Linked DNA regions of Homo sapiens: region 2 is linked to region 1. Evidence: promoter capture Hi-C in 16 types of primary human blood cells and fetal thymus (Javierre and others, 2016). All regions are on one chromosome and are shown on one strand. The core of a region is centred on a gene start or on the middle of the fragment in contact, and the rest is flanking DNA. Distances in the headings are between cores, read along the strand shown.

Evidence for each region. The method cuts DNA at HindIII sites, captures the fragments that hold promoters and counts their contacts. A CHiCAGO score of 5 or more calls a contact.
Region 2: the fragment with the promoter of ZFP3 here is called in contact with the fragment with the promoter of SPNS3 in region 1 in 1 of 17 cell types (neutrophils); the score reaches 5.0 in neutrophils.

The regions. Positions count from the first base shown.
Region 1 is chr17:4,430,974-4,437,711 of GRCh38, forward strand. It overlaps SPNS3 (SPNS lysolipid transporter 3, sphingosine-1-phosphate (putative)), which reads left to right and starts at 2,967. Exons shown (of 12, transcript NM_182538.5): 1 at 2,967-3,193. The coding sequence starts at 2,995. RefSeq lists an enhancer at 3,029-3,683. The HindIII fragment of the contact is 18,293 bases long and covers 2,690-6,738 here.
Region 2 is chr17:5,076,656-5,084,074 of GRCh38, forward strand. It overlaps ZFP3 (ZFP3 zinc finger protein), which reads left to right and starts at 1,812. Exons shown (of 2, transcript NM_153018.3): 1 at 1,812-1,920. It overlaps ZFP3-DT (ZFP3 divergent transcript), which reads right to left and starts at 1,458. Exons shown (of 2, transcript NR_186458.1): 1 at 1,232-1,458. RefSeq lists enhancers at 1,280-2,151, 1,519-1,588. The HindIII fragment of the contact is 11,376 bases long and covers 1,147-7,419 here.

The sequences.
Region 1 (6,738 bases), core at 1,717-4,216:
CTCTCCACCAACATTTGTTATTTCCTCTCTCTCTCTTTTTAAAATTATAGCCGTCTTAGTGGGTACGAACTGATATCTTATGGTGGCTTCAATCTGCCATTTTCCTAATGACTTGTGATGTTGAACATTTTTCTTTCTTTTTTTTTTTTTCCCCCGAGATGAAGTCTCGCTCTGTCACCCAGGCTAGAGTGCAGTGGTGTGATCTCAGCTCACCGCAACCTCTGCCACCCGGGTTCAAGCAGTTCTCCTGCCTCAGCCTCCTAAATAGCTGGGATTACAGACACATGCCACCACGCCCAGCTAATTTTTGTATTTTTAGTAGATATGGAGTTTCACTATGTTGGCCAGGCTGGTCTCGAACTCCCAACCTTGTGATCCACCCACCTGAGCCTCCTAAAGTGCTGGGATTGCAGGCGTGAGCTACTGTGCCCAGCCTGAACATCTTTTTATGTGCTTGTCGGTCACCTGTATATCTTCAGAGAAATGTCTGTTCAACTCCTTGGCCCATTTTTGTCCCCCTGATGTTTTTTTTCTTTAGAGATGGGATCTCACTCTGTTGCCCAAGCTGGAGTACAGTGGCATGATTATAGCTCACTGTGGCCTCAACCTCCCAGGCTTAAGTGATCCTTCCACCTCAGCCTCCAGAGTAGCTGGGACTACAGGTCCATGCCACTATGCCCGGCTCTTCACCCATTTTTAAATTGGTTTGTCATTTTATGCTTTAACTTTTTGTTTAGATATAATTTATAACTTATAGAAAGTTTATCATATAGCGTAAAGAAACTCTTATAATCTTTACCCAGATTCATCTATTATTAATATTTGCCCCATTTGTTTTCTTACTATACATATCTAATATTTTTTCCTGAACCGTTTGAGAATGAGTGGCATAAATCATGGCCCTGTACCTCTAGATACTTCAGATAAGGATATTTACTTATTTACTTACATAACCATAGTTCACAGATGCTGATATGCTATTTCTTCCTGATCCAGTTTTATCAGTTGATCCAGTACAGGAGCGAGGTTGGGATCCTGTACTGCTCTTAATTGTCTTATTGTCTTGTCTCTCTTTTTTTTTTTTTTTTTTTTGAGACGGAGTCTTGTTCTGTCACCCAGGCTAGAGTGCAGTGGCACGATCTTGGCTCACTGCAACCTCTGCCTCCCGGGTTCACATGATTCTCCTGCCTCAGCCTCCTGAGTAGCTGGGACTACAGGTGCACACCACCACACCCAGCTACTTTTTTGTGTATTTTTAGTAGAGACAGGGTTTCACTATGTTGGCCAGACTGGTCTCGAACTCCTGACCTCGTGATCCGCCCGCCTGGGCCTCCCAAAGTGCTGGGATTACAGGCATGAGCCACCGCGCCTGGCCTATCTTGTCTCTTTGTTGCTTTTAATCCAAAACAGTCCCTCAGAATATTTTTTTTTTTTCGAGACAGAGTTTTGCTCTTGTTGCCCAGGCTGGAGTGTAATGGCGTGATCTTGGCTCACCACAACCTGTGCCTCCCGGGTTCAAGCAATTCTCCTGCCTCAGCCTCCCGAGTAGCTGAGATTACAGGCACCTGCCACCATGCCTAGTTAGTTTTGTATTTTTAGTAGAGACGGGGTTTCTCCACATTGGTCAGGCTGATCTTGAACTCCCGACCTCAGGTGATCCACCTGCCTCGGCCTCCCAAAGTGCTGGGATAACAAGCGTGAGCCACCACGCCTAGCTCCCTCAGTCTTTCTTAGTCTTTCATGACTCTGACATTTTTCAATATACAGTCCCTTTAAAGAAATAGTGTTTCTCAATTTGGGCTTGTCTGATGTTTTTTCATTTTAAAAATTAAAAAAAAAATTTTTTTTTTTGAGTTGGGGTCTTGCTTTGTCACCCAGCCTGGAGTGCAGTGGCACGAACATGGCTCACTGCAGCCTCGACTTCCCAGGCTAAGGCGATCCTTCCTACCTCAGCCTCCCAAGTAGCTGGGACTGTGGACGCACACCACTACACCCGGCTATTTTTTTTTAAAATTTTTTATTTTTTTGGTATTTTTGTAGCAATGGGGTTTCACCATGTTGCCCAGGCTGGTCACAAACTTCTGGGCTTGGATGATCCTCCTGTCTTGGCCTCCCAGTGTTAGGATTACAGGTGCGAGCCACCGCGTCTGGCTGATGTCTTCTCATGATGAGATTCCGGTTGTGCCTTCCTGGCTGGAATGCCACATAGATGATGCTGTGACCTGCGAAGACCTTCACATCTGGAGGCACACGACACCCTCCTGCCTCTCACAGGTGATTTATTTTAACCCCTTGGTCAAGATGTCTGATTCCTCTACTGTATAGTTACTCTTTTTCCTTTTGTTACTAATAAGCAATCTATCAAGAGATGCTTCGTGACCGTGCTGACACCCTCCCCCCTCACTGAAGTCTTCCCCCCAGATTTAGCCCCCACTGATGAGTTTTGCACACAGGCTGTCTTCTTGTAGGCAGCCCCCTCTGCTACCTTTGTTTTTCCGGGAAGGACCTTAGATCCTGGGTAGGTGCTCATCCTGCCTGGCAGTCGAGTGCAATGCTGCTGTCCTGGCCAATGCCCAGCCTTCCTCATTTGCCCCGGCTTCAAGGCATTGGTTCACAGTCCCGTACGGGCAGCTAGACCATCTCACAGCAAGCAGCACTCTGGGAGGCTCATCTCATTTCCTGCCCTGGAAGCTTCCCTTCCTCACTGCAGCCACTGAAGCTGCAGGCTAGATCAAGGGGACCACAGAGTTGTCCAGTCCCCAGGGTGGGGGTGCCAGGAGCCCTTGTCCTCCGTAGCAGGTCTCAGAGGCTGACGATGGGGAAATCGCACTGGTGAAGCTGCCGTGGGGTCAGGAGGAACCTGCGATAAGACGCCCAACAGTTAGGGCAGGTGCTTTGAGGTTTGGAGCCTGGGACCCCACAGGAAGTGACTTCGTGCTGAGCTAATGTTGCTTCATCCTGGCGCCAGTCTCAGGCCAAGAGCTGCAGGCTGGCATGGCTGGGGGGATGTCAGCGGAGTGCCCTGAGCCTGGGCCAGGAGGTCTGCAGGGCCAGTCCCCAGGGCCAGGCAGGCAGTGTCCCCCTCCCATCACGCCCACCTCCTGGAGCCTGCCCCCGTGGAGGGCCTACGTGGCTGCCGCCGTCCTCTGCTACATCAACCTCCTGAATTACATGAACTGGTTCATCATTGCAGGTGAGGAGGGGATGGCTACCCTGGGCAGTACCTGCTGCTGTGCCCACCAGCCAGGGGCTGCAGATCCATGGTGGCCTTCCAGCCATCACCCATCTTTCTGCTCCTGGGCCCATCTCTGGTGTTCTCACCTCTAGAGGTGGTTTTCAGCTGTGCTCGAATCGGGGAGGACCAACTGATGTTCCCAATCCAGCCTCAACTAAGAAGGGACACAGGCTGGGCATGGTGGCTCCCGCTTGTAATTCCAGCACTTTGGGAGGCTGAGGCAGGAAGATTGCTTGAGCCCAGGAGTTTGAGACCAACCTGGACAACATAGTGAGACTCTGTCTCTATTTATTTATTTTTTTTTTTGAGACAGAGTCTCGCTCTGTCGCCCAGGCTGGAGTGTAGTGGCGCAATCTCAGCTCACTGCAACCTCTGTCTCCCAGGTTCAAGTGATTCTCCTGCCTCAGCCTCCCGAGTAGCTGGGATTACAGGCGTGCACCACCACATCCGGCTAATTTTTGTATTTTGAGTAGAGGAGGAGTAGGGACGGGGTTTTACCATGCTAGTCAGGCTGGTCTCGAACTCCTGACCTCAGGTGATCCACCCGCCTCGGCCTCCCAAAGTGCTGGGATTACAGGCATGAGCCACCGTGCCCGGCCTTTTTTTTTTTTCTTGAGACAGAGTCTCAATCTGTTGCCCAGGCTGGAGTGCAGTGGCGCGATCTCGGCTCACTGCAACTTCTGCCTCCCAGGTTCAAGCGATTCCTATCTCAGCCTCCCGAGTAGCTGGGACTACAGGCGCATACCACCATGCCAGGCTAGTTTTTGTATTTTTAGTAGAGACGGGGTTTTGCCGTGTATGCCAGGCTGTCTCGAACTCCAGACCTCAGGTGATCCGCCTGCCTCGGCCTCCCAAAGTGTTGGGATTATAGGCATGAGCCCCTGCGCCCAGCCGAAACTCTGTCTCTATTTAAAAAATTAAAAATATTTTAGGGCTGGGTGCGGTGGCTCAGGCCTGTAATCCCAGCACTGTGGGAGGCCAAGGTGGGCGGATCACTTGAAGTGAGGACTTTGTGACCAGCCTGGGCAACATGGTGAAACCCCGTCTCTACTAAAACTACAAAAATTAGCCGAGCATGGTAGCGGGCACCTGTAATCTCAGCTACTGGGGAGGCTGAGGCAGAGAATTGCTTGAACCTGGGAGGTGGATGTTGCAGTGAGCCGAGATCCCACCATTGAGCCAAGATCCCACCATTGCACTCCAGTCTGGGCGACAGAGCAAGGCTCTGTCTCAAAAAAAAAAAAATAAAAAATAAAAAATAAATAAATAAATAAATATTTTTTAAAAATTAAGGGAGGGCACAGTGGGGGTGGGGCCAGAGACATAATGAGGGGTGGGTGGGTGAGGACAGCAGGCAGGACTTCCAGGCAGAGGCCCCCAGGTTCTAGGTGGAGGACAGGGTAGCCTGGGCCAGACAAGAATAGCTCCTGCTGGCTGTGTTTCTAGGACAACAGGCTGCTCGCAAACCTCACACGTCCTGCCTTCCTTCTTGCAGGCTTCAGGGCTCAACCTGCTCTGTCTTCTGTCACTCATTCACTAACTCACTCACTCATTCATTCATTCAAGACTGATCAGGGGCCAGGCGTGGTGGCTCACGCCTGTAATCCCAGCTACTCGGGAGGCTGAGGCAGGACAGTCGCTTGAACCCGGGAGGCGGAGGTTGCGGTGAGCTGAGATCGTGCCACTGCACTCCAGCCTGGGCGACAGAGCGAGACTCCGTCTCAAACAAAGACAACAACAATAACAACAGCTGATTGAGGCTCCACTTGCTCTTCTCTTCTTGTCATTCATTCATTCAAGACCGGCTGAGCACTAACTGTGGGCAGGACCCCCTGCTGGCTGCTGTGGACCCAGGGAGGAAATCGGACTTGGAGTTCCTGAACTCAGGAATGACCATCTCATGGGGCAGAGATAGAGGCTGGTTGATGGCAGTCCTGCGAGGCGGAGAGGTGCGGCCAGACAAGGGGGAGGCACAGGCCGGGCTGGGAGCTCAGGAGGGTGCCTGCAGCTGCCAGGCATCTCTGAGACCTGGGCATCGATCTGTCAGTTACCAGCTCAGCATGCCAGAGAGTGGCTATGGAATCATGAAACTCTAGGGGCTGCAGAGCCATCCCCAGACCTGGTCATCGTCTTTGAGGAGCTCAGAGGTCAGGAGCTTCTCCTCACATGAGGTCAGGAGTTCGAGACCAGCCTGGGTAACATAGAAAAACCTTGTCTCTACAAAAAATTTAAAAAATTAGCCAGGGACAGTGATGTCTTCAGCCTCTCGGGAGGCTGAAGCAGGAGGATTGCTTGAGGCTGAAGCAGGAGGATTGCTTGAGGCTGAAGCGGGAGGATTGCTTGAGGCTGCGGTGAGCCCTCTAGCCTGAGTGACAGAGCAAGATCTTATCTAAACCCCTAAAGACAAAAAGCCAAAACAAAGCAAAACAAAACACATGAAACAAAAAACCCCAAAGGGGTGTATGGGGTGAGAACAGAGCTTCTTGGGTGCCAGACTGGGAGCTTGGACTTTCTGCCTTGGGCAATGGGGAGCCATATAATTGGATTTGAGGCCCTGATGGAGGCAAAATGAGCCAGGGAGTCAGTTCAGAGGCTGCTGTAGTGGATCAGGCCAAAGCTGAGGAGGCCTGAGTTGGAGTGTGGGCCAAGGGCACGCAAAGGCGAGAAGGGGCAAGAGGTGGATGGGAGCCAGGAATCACCAGTGTGGAGCTCTCTGAACCCACGAGCCTGGGGACCCGCTATCTCTGCCGCTAGCCCTGGAGGTCCCTGGCTGGGCCCTAAGACCCTGAGTCTTGCCTGTCCAGGTCCCTTCTCCATCAGCACTTCCTCTGTATGTGCAAGAAAGGGGGCTGTGGTTACTGTGGGGATAGAGACCTGGAGAAGTGAAACCGTGCTGAGCATCTGGGAACTGGTGGGGGTAAACAGCTAAAATGTTCTTGCAGGAAACAGCTCTTATGGGGCCAGGGTGGTAGGCTACAGATGAAAGCAAGGGTGGGTGCACGCTTGGCTCTGGATCACCTCTAGAGTACCATGGGGCTGAGAGGAGCCCAGGAGGAGAGAAAACAAGGGGATGAGTCCTCATTCCTGAAAATGGAAGATGGGCACAATTTGGAGCATTTTCGTTTAGCTATTTATTTTGCTTACCTGTGTTGTCTCCTTTTTTTCTTTCCAATGACTGTCTTCTTTGTGTATTTAAAATAATAAAAGGGGGACTTTGAGAGGCCGAGGCAGGTGGATCACCTGAGATCAGGAGTTCGAGACCAGACTGGCCAAAATGGTGAAACCCCGTCTCTACTAAAAATACAAAAATTAGCCAGGCGTGATGGCGGGCACCTGTAATCCCAGCTACTTGGGAGGCCGAGGCAGGAAAATTGCCTGAACCCAGGAGGCAGAGGTTGCAGTGAGCTGAGATCGTGTCACTGCACTTCAGCCTGGATGAAATAGTGAGATTCAGTCTCAAAAATAAATAAATAAAATAAAAATAAAAAACAAAATATTAAAAG
Region 2 (7,419 bases), core at 562-3,061, 640 kb after region 1:
TTGAATCAGAGTTAACAAACTTCCCATGCAGTTGCAGACAGTAGGGCAAGGGAGTTAAGGATTTTAGTACCAGAGTGGCTAAAGTGATGGACCCTAGAGTCTAGGGCCTAATGGCAATGATGAATTCAAGAGAAAGTTTTCTTTCTGCTAGATTGTGTGTGGCATACAAACACAATATTCCCTTCTAAGGGTGGTCACTCCTTTCCCTATTTCATAGGATTATGGTGAGGCAAACACAGAAGCCCGCCGTCATCCTTGCGGGAAGGCAGGTGACCAGGCTTGGTAAATCACACGGTCCTTTCCCCCTTGATTGGTCCATGGTTGAGCACCAGACCCAAACAGGGCTAATCATAGTCCTTTGTAACTGATATTTGGGAAGGATAGTGTACTCTGAGGCAACATTATATAGAATGAAAGTCTTCAATGTGGTGATCTTGGAACTGACACCTAAAAACAAACTGGCTGGCTGGACGCGGTAGCTCACGCCTGTAATCCCAGCACTTTGGGAGGCCAAGGTGGGCCTAAGGTCTGACCTAAGGTCAGAAGTTCGAGACCAGCCTGACCAACATGGTGAAACCCCGTCTCTACTAAAAATACAAAAATTAGCCGGGCGTGGTGGCTGGCACTTGTAATCCCAGCTACTCTGGAGGCTGAGGCTGGAGAATCGCTTGAACCCGGGAGGTGGAGGTTGCAGTGAGCAGAGATCGTGCCATTGCACTCCAGCCTTGGCGACAAGAGCGAAACTCCGCCTCAAAAAACAAACAAAAACAAGCTGGAGGCCGGGCGCGGTGGCTCATGTCTGTAATCCCAGCACTTTGGGAGGCCGAGGCGGCCGGATCACCTGAGGTCGGGAGTTCGAGACCAGCCTGACCAAAATGGAGAAAACCCGTCTCTACCTAAAATACAAAATTAGCCGGGCGTGGTGGCACATGCTTGTAATCCCAGTTACTCGGGGAGGCTGAAGTAGGAGAATCGCTTGAATCCGGGAGGCGGAGGTTGCGGTGAGCGGAGATGGCGCCATCGCACTCCAGCCTGGACAACAAGAGCGAAACTCCATCTCAAAAAACAAACAAACAAGAAAACAAGCTGGCTGTGCAAAATTACAGAGGAAGTAACAAGGAAAGGTTCTGAGGTGAGAATGGGCCAAGCTTGCTCAGGGAACCCAGGAAGGCTAGCTGCAGAATGCTGTTTCCGTGGCCTCGGCAGCTTAACCTAGGCCTTTACTCTTAACCTTGGTAATTCCCACGCAATCTTGAGATTTCAGGCCAAACGTCACTCCTGCAAGCCCTTCCGGAACTCAAAGCATGTCTCCCTTCGCTCCCGCCGAGGAGAGACCTGTTCCCAGGATCTGCAGCCCTGTGCTTATCAGACCCACGGAGTCTGTGGAAAGGAAGGATGGGATAAGAACGATGCGGGTTGGGAGAGTTAAAAGGGTCGCGCAAACGGTCCCCGCGGGAATGCGAAGCGGATTCTCGAGTTCTTGAGCCTAGAGCAATGCTTGGGGAGCGACACGAGGGCGCAGAGCGGCAGATCGCGGAGCGGAAGTTCATCCCCGGAGCCGTTCTAGGAAACCCGGAGGACTCAGGTCGTCAATGATTCCGGGGCTGAAGTGGGCATCGACGGGTGCACTTTGCTGTTCCAGGGAGCCGGCTCGGCAGGCGGCGGCGACGTGGAACTTGGGCTAGGGCTAGAACCGGCGAAAAGCAAGCCGGAAAAGGCAAGGGGGCGTCGGTGCGCTGACCACCTGTTCCTCCAGCGGAGTGCGACGCGCGCCGATTGGCTGGAGTGCCGCCCGGGTACCGGAAGTGGCCGATGCCCGTCGCCAGTGACACCGGGACAACAGCTGCGGGCTCTGTGCGAGCGGCCCAGCAGCGCGGAGCCTCAGCGGAGTGAGCGAGCGCGGGGCAGTAGCGGCCTGCGGTGAGACCTCATTCCGTCGCGGCTGTGGGGGTAGGCGGGGGCTGGGCTCCCAGCTCCCTAGAGAGCCGAGCGGAAACCCTACGTTTAGGCCCGTTCTGACCGGGGTTCGCTGTGTGACCTTGAAGTTTATGCCTCCCTCCATTCCCCCCGCCCCCAGGCCTTCATTTCCACCTGCACACAGAGAGGGTGGGGCCTGGACACCGCCAGGGACAGTCCCAGCTCTGGTTTGGTGCCTGTCAGCCGTGGGGGTGGGAGAAGCAGGGACACTCCCTTCTGTACCGAGGTGGGGACCCGTGGGAGCTGTGGTTTTCTCAGACATTCCACCCCCAAGTAAACCGCTAGGACGAAATGGCGGGCAGTGTCACAAACTTAACGCCCTAGTGGCAGATTGTGCCCTGTGCTGCCAGACAAGATATTGGCTTATGAGGGGTGGTCGTGAAAAGGAGACAGGTTTGAGCTGCAAAGATAGAGCCCTATTGTGGGTCAGAGGGAGAAGAGAGGAAAGGAGGTTAACAGTGCCATAAATTAAATATCACCCAGATTGGGAAAAGGAACTTATTTTTACAAACAGTTATCGACACCAGCTATGTGTCAGACACTATCCTAGGCTCTTTAGATATAATGATGAATGAAATATCCAGTTAGCCATCAAGAGTATTACAGAGGCTGGGTGCAGTGGCTCATGCCTGTAATCCCAGCATTTTGGGAGGCCTAGGCGGGAGGATCACTTGAGCACAGGAGTTCAAGACCAGCCTGGGCAACATAGTGAGACACCATCTGTACAAAAAACAAAGAAATTAGTTGGGTAGTTGGGTGTGGTGGCGCATGCTTGTAGTCCCAGCTACTTGGGAGGCTGAGGTGGGAGGATTTTCTTGAGCCTGGGAAGTTGAAGCTGCAGTGAGTCTGGGCAATAGAGCCAAGACCCTGTCTCAGAAAAAAGGGAGGTATTGCAGATTCATTATATATATAAGACAGTTACACAAATTCACTTAACATTTACCAGGTATCTGAAATATGCTAGGTACTCAGAATACCAGGATGAATGGAACAGCATCCTTGCTTATGGTCTAGAGAAGAAAATAGGTATGAAAAATTAATAATGCAGTGGGGTAGCTGCTACAAGGTGAAGGAGTAGCTGTCTGCCTTAGAGCCTGGGGGTCAGGGAAGAAAATGGAGGGGGTCAGCTGGGCGTGATGGCTCATGCCTGTAATCCCAGCACTTTGGGAGGCAAAGGTGGGCGGATCACCTGAGGTCAGGAGCTCGAGACCAGCCTGGCCAACATGGTGAAACCCTGTCTCTACTAGAAATACAAAATTAGCCAGGCGTGGTGGCAGATGCCTGTAATACCAGCTGCTTGGGAGGCTGAGGTGGGAGAATCGCCTGAGCCTGGGAGGCGGAGGTTGCGGTGAGCCAAGATTGCGCCATTGCACTCCAGCCTGGGAGACAGAGCGAGGCTCCATCTCCAAAGAAAAAAAAAAAAATAGGTATCGTGGTTTCAGGACTGATTAATCCAGTGGCCCTGGCAGCATCTCCCTTGTTTTTCTGAGCTTTAGCTGCCCTCATCCACAGGCTGGTAGTGAGATGGCAGCAGCAGGTACAGGCAATAATATATGGAAGTATTTTCCTATGGTTCTCTCAGGATGGCAGGAAACTATTCCCAGAAGCTCCCAGCAAACGTCCTCAAAATATTGACCCAGATGAAGGTGGATGTCCATTTCCAAACCAGGAATTCCCGAATCCTTGCTGTTTCTGAACCAGTGCCTTGCAAGAATTAGGGCATTTATTTGACTGGGTTAACTCAGTTGGAGTGTCCTGCTGGAGCTCTTGGATGAGGTTAGATCTCTGGCAAGGAAAGCAAAGCCACTGCAAATATTTTTGCTCACATACCCCGTAAAATAATTTTGGAAGGTTTGTGTCTCTTTATACATTTGCAAGTTGACATCCAAAACATTTCCATTTCTCATCATAAATTTTAATGAGTTTCAAAGGATATTATTTTTGAGGTATTAAAATTTCGACATTTCAAAATAAAACCTCATCCCAGTTTCCCAGATACCTTCCCTTGGTTACCTTCCCTTGGAGCACAAAGAAGGTGCTCATCACATCCTTCACCCTCTCTGTAACCTCCATCTCTTAGCACCCCACTCCTCCCAGCCCCCCTTCATTTCCATCCGTATCTCACTTAGTCATCTCAGCTCTGTCCTGACTAACCTCCCTAGGCCTCGCCTCCTCAGTCTTCCACCACACATCTCCCTGGATTCTCAGGCTGCCAAAACTGCCACTGAAAGAAGTCAGGAGAGCATGGTGATTGGCCCCTCTTCACTCTGATGCTCTCCAGCTTGCTTGTTTCATGAGGTGGTGGTAAGGGTTAATGTCTGTAAGTTGCTTAGCACATGGTGAGAGCTTATCATTAGCCTCCACATCAAAATGTCAGTGCTGCCTGGCTCATCTCCCCTCCATATTTATCCCACCCCGTGCATGCTACATTGAAATCCCAATGTTTTTTCTGTTTCTGTTCTTTTTTTTTTTTTTTCTTTTTTGAGATGGAGTCTCACTCTGCACTGGAGTGCAGTGGCACAATTTTGGCTCACTGCAAGCTCGGCCTGCCCCGGGCTTCACACCATTCTCCTGCCTCAGCCTCCCGAGTAGCTGGGACTACAGGTGCCTTCCACCACACCTGGCTAATTTTTGTATTTTTACTAGAGGTGGGGTTTCACCGTGTTAGCCGTGATGTCTGTTTCTTTTCTTACTCCTCCTGTACTTCCTGGCCTCTTGCTTGCCCACTTTCTGTCCGGAATGCTATAGTGCAGTGGTCTTCAGATGGAAATATGTGGAGGGGGTACACAGACACTTTCTGTAACATCTTTGGGCACATAGATTGTTGAATGGAAATCAACTTCTAGATCCTTGACTTTATTTTGTATCCTTGCCTATGAGTGATCTGCTTAAGAATGGGCCTGTGGCCTGTAGGTTTCTCTTCTCTCACATTTTTTCACAATTGTTCTTTTCTTCATTTTATTTTATTTTATTTTATTTTATTTTTTGAGACGGAGTCTCGCTCTATCACCCAGGCTGGAGTGCAGTGGTGCGATCTTGGCTCACTGCAAGCTCTGCCTCCCGGGTTCACGCCATTCTCCTGCCTCAGCCTCCCGAGTAGCTGGGACTACAGGTGCCTGCCACCACGCCCGGCTAATTTTTTGTGTTTTTAGTAGAGGCGGGGTTTCACCGTAATAGGCAGGATGGTCTCGATCTCCTGACCTCGTGATCCACCCGCCTCAGCCTCCCAAAGTGTTGGGATTACAGGCGTGAGCCACCACGCCTGGCCCTTTTCTTCTTTTATAAAAGAAAGACACCGGCCAGGCATGGTGGCTCACGCCTGTAATCCTAGCACTTTTGGAGGCCGAGGTGGGTGGATCATTTGAGGTCAGGAGTTTGAGACCAGCCTGGCCAACATGGTGAAACCCCGCCTCTACTAAAAATACAAAAAACAGGCTGGGCACGGTGCCTCACGCCTGTAATCCCAGCACTTTGGGAGGCCGAGGCGGGTGGATCATGAGGTCAGGAGATCGAGACCATCCTGGCTAACAGGGTGGAACCCTGTCTCTACTAAAAATATAAAAAATTAGCCGGGCCTGGTGGTGGGCGTGTGTAATCCCAGCTACTAGGGAGGCTGAGGCAGGAGAATCGCTTGAAACCAGGAGGCAGAGGTTGCAGTGAGCCAAGATCACGCCACTGCACTCCAGCCTGGGCGACAGAGTGAGACTCCGTCTCAAAAAAATAATAAGTAAAATAAAATAAATAAAGACACCACTCACGCATCTCCTTAAGGTTACCATGGTGCATCCCTCTGCAGTGGAAAATCCTCTAGCGTGCCATACAGAGACAATTTGTTGAAGAAGTGAGTTTTTTGGACGTTTTGTAATACAAGTCCCAATCTTTGCTCCCAACAAAATTTTACTTAATTTTTTGAGACAGGGTCTCTTATTCTGTCACCCAGGCTGGAGTGCAGTGGTGTGATCATAGCTCACTGCATCCTTCACCTGCCAGCCTCAGGTGATCCTCCCACCTCAGCTGCCCAGGTAGCTTGGGATTATAGGCATTCACCACCGTGGCTGGCTAATTTTTTTGTAATTTTTCTAGAGACAGGTTTCGCCCTGTTGGCCAGGCTGGTCTCAAACTCCTGGGCTTAAGTGATGTACCCACCTTAGCCTCTCAAAGTGCCGGGATTATAGGCGTGCCCAGTCCCAACAGAATTTTTAAAAGATGTAATCAGGTTGTCAGTCAGCTGCCAGATTATGCCGTAATGTTTTACTACAAATCACTGTGTGGCTTTTTGGCAGATAAGTTCAAAAAGTTGTGATATTGCTACAAGAGATTGCTGTAAATGCAGGTTGATGCAGTTTGGGCAAAATCAGGTCCAGTTACAGTAACTAGAGTCAGTTTGTTAAGCATAAGAGAAAGGTGGTTTTTAACTCAGAAGAGGTATGCAGTCAGTTGTATTATATCTGTCTGCTGTCAGGTTTAGGGGAGGGGAGGGGCAATCTAGATTGAGAAGAGGAAAAAAGTCAGAGCAGGAACTGGCAATGTACCCATAATTCTGCTGCTCGACACCTGTGTTGATCTGCCTGTAGGCCAGGTTTTGGGTAAAGATGGATACACCACATTAAGAGTAGGATAACTCCAGTCATTAAGACTTTGTAGGCCGGGCGCAGTGGCTCATGCTTGTAATCCCAGCACTTTGGGACGCCGAGGTGGATGGATCACCTGAGGTCAGGAGTTGGAGACCAGCCTAACCAACACGGAGAAACCCCATCTCTACTAAAAATACAAAATTAGCCAGGCACGGTGGTGCAAGCCTGTAATCCCAGCTACTTGGGAGGCTGAGGCAGGAGAATTGCTTGAACCCGGAAGGTGGAGCCAGGATTGCACCACTGCACTCCAGCTGGGGAACAAGAGTGAAACTCTATCTCAAAAAAAAAAAAAAAGACTTTGTAACAGTGGTTTTCAAACCTGGCTGGGCATCAGAATCACCTAGGGTACTTGTTTAAAATATAGATCTCTTGGTCCCACTAGAGATTCTGATTCTGAGAGATCTGAGATGGGACCTGGACATTAGTATTTTTAACAGATTTCTCAGTGGATTCTCACGCAGCTAGCCTAGTTCCAGGCCAGGAACCATTGTTTAAGAGACATTCATCTAACAAGATCTTCCTGCCATGATTTCAGGGCTCCTAAGCAATTTTCAGGGTTTTATGTGGCTTTCCATGCAGATTTTCTTTTCTTTTCTTTTCTTTTCTTTTCTTTTTTTTGAGATGGAGTCTGGCTCTGTCGCCCAGGCTGGAGTGCAATGGTGCGATCTCAGCTCACTGCAACCTCCACCTCCCAGGTTCAACTGATTCTCCTGCCTCAGCCTCCCGAGTAGCTGGGATTATAAGCACCCACCATCATGCCCAGCCAATTTTTGTATTTTTGTAGAGATGAGGTTTCACCATGTTGGCC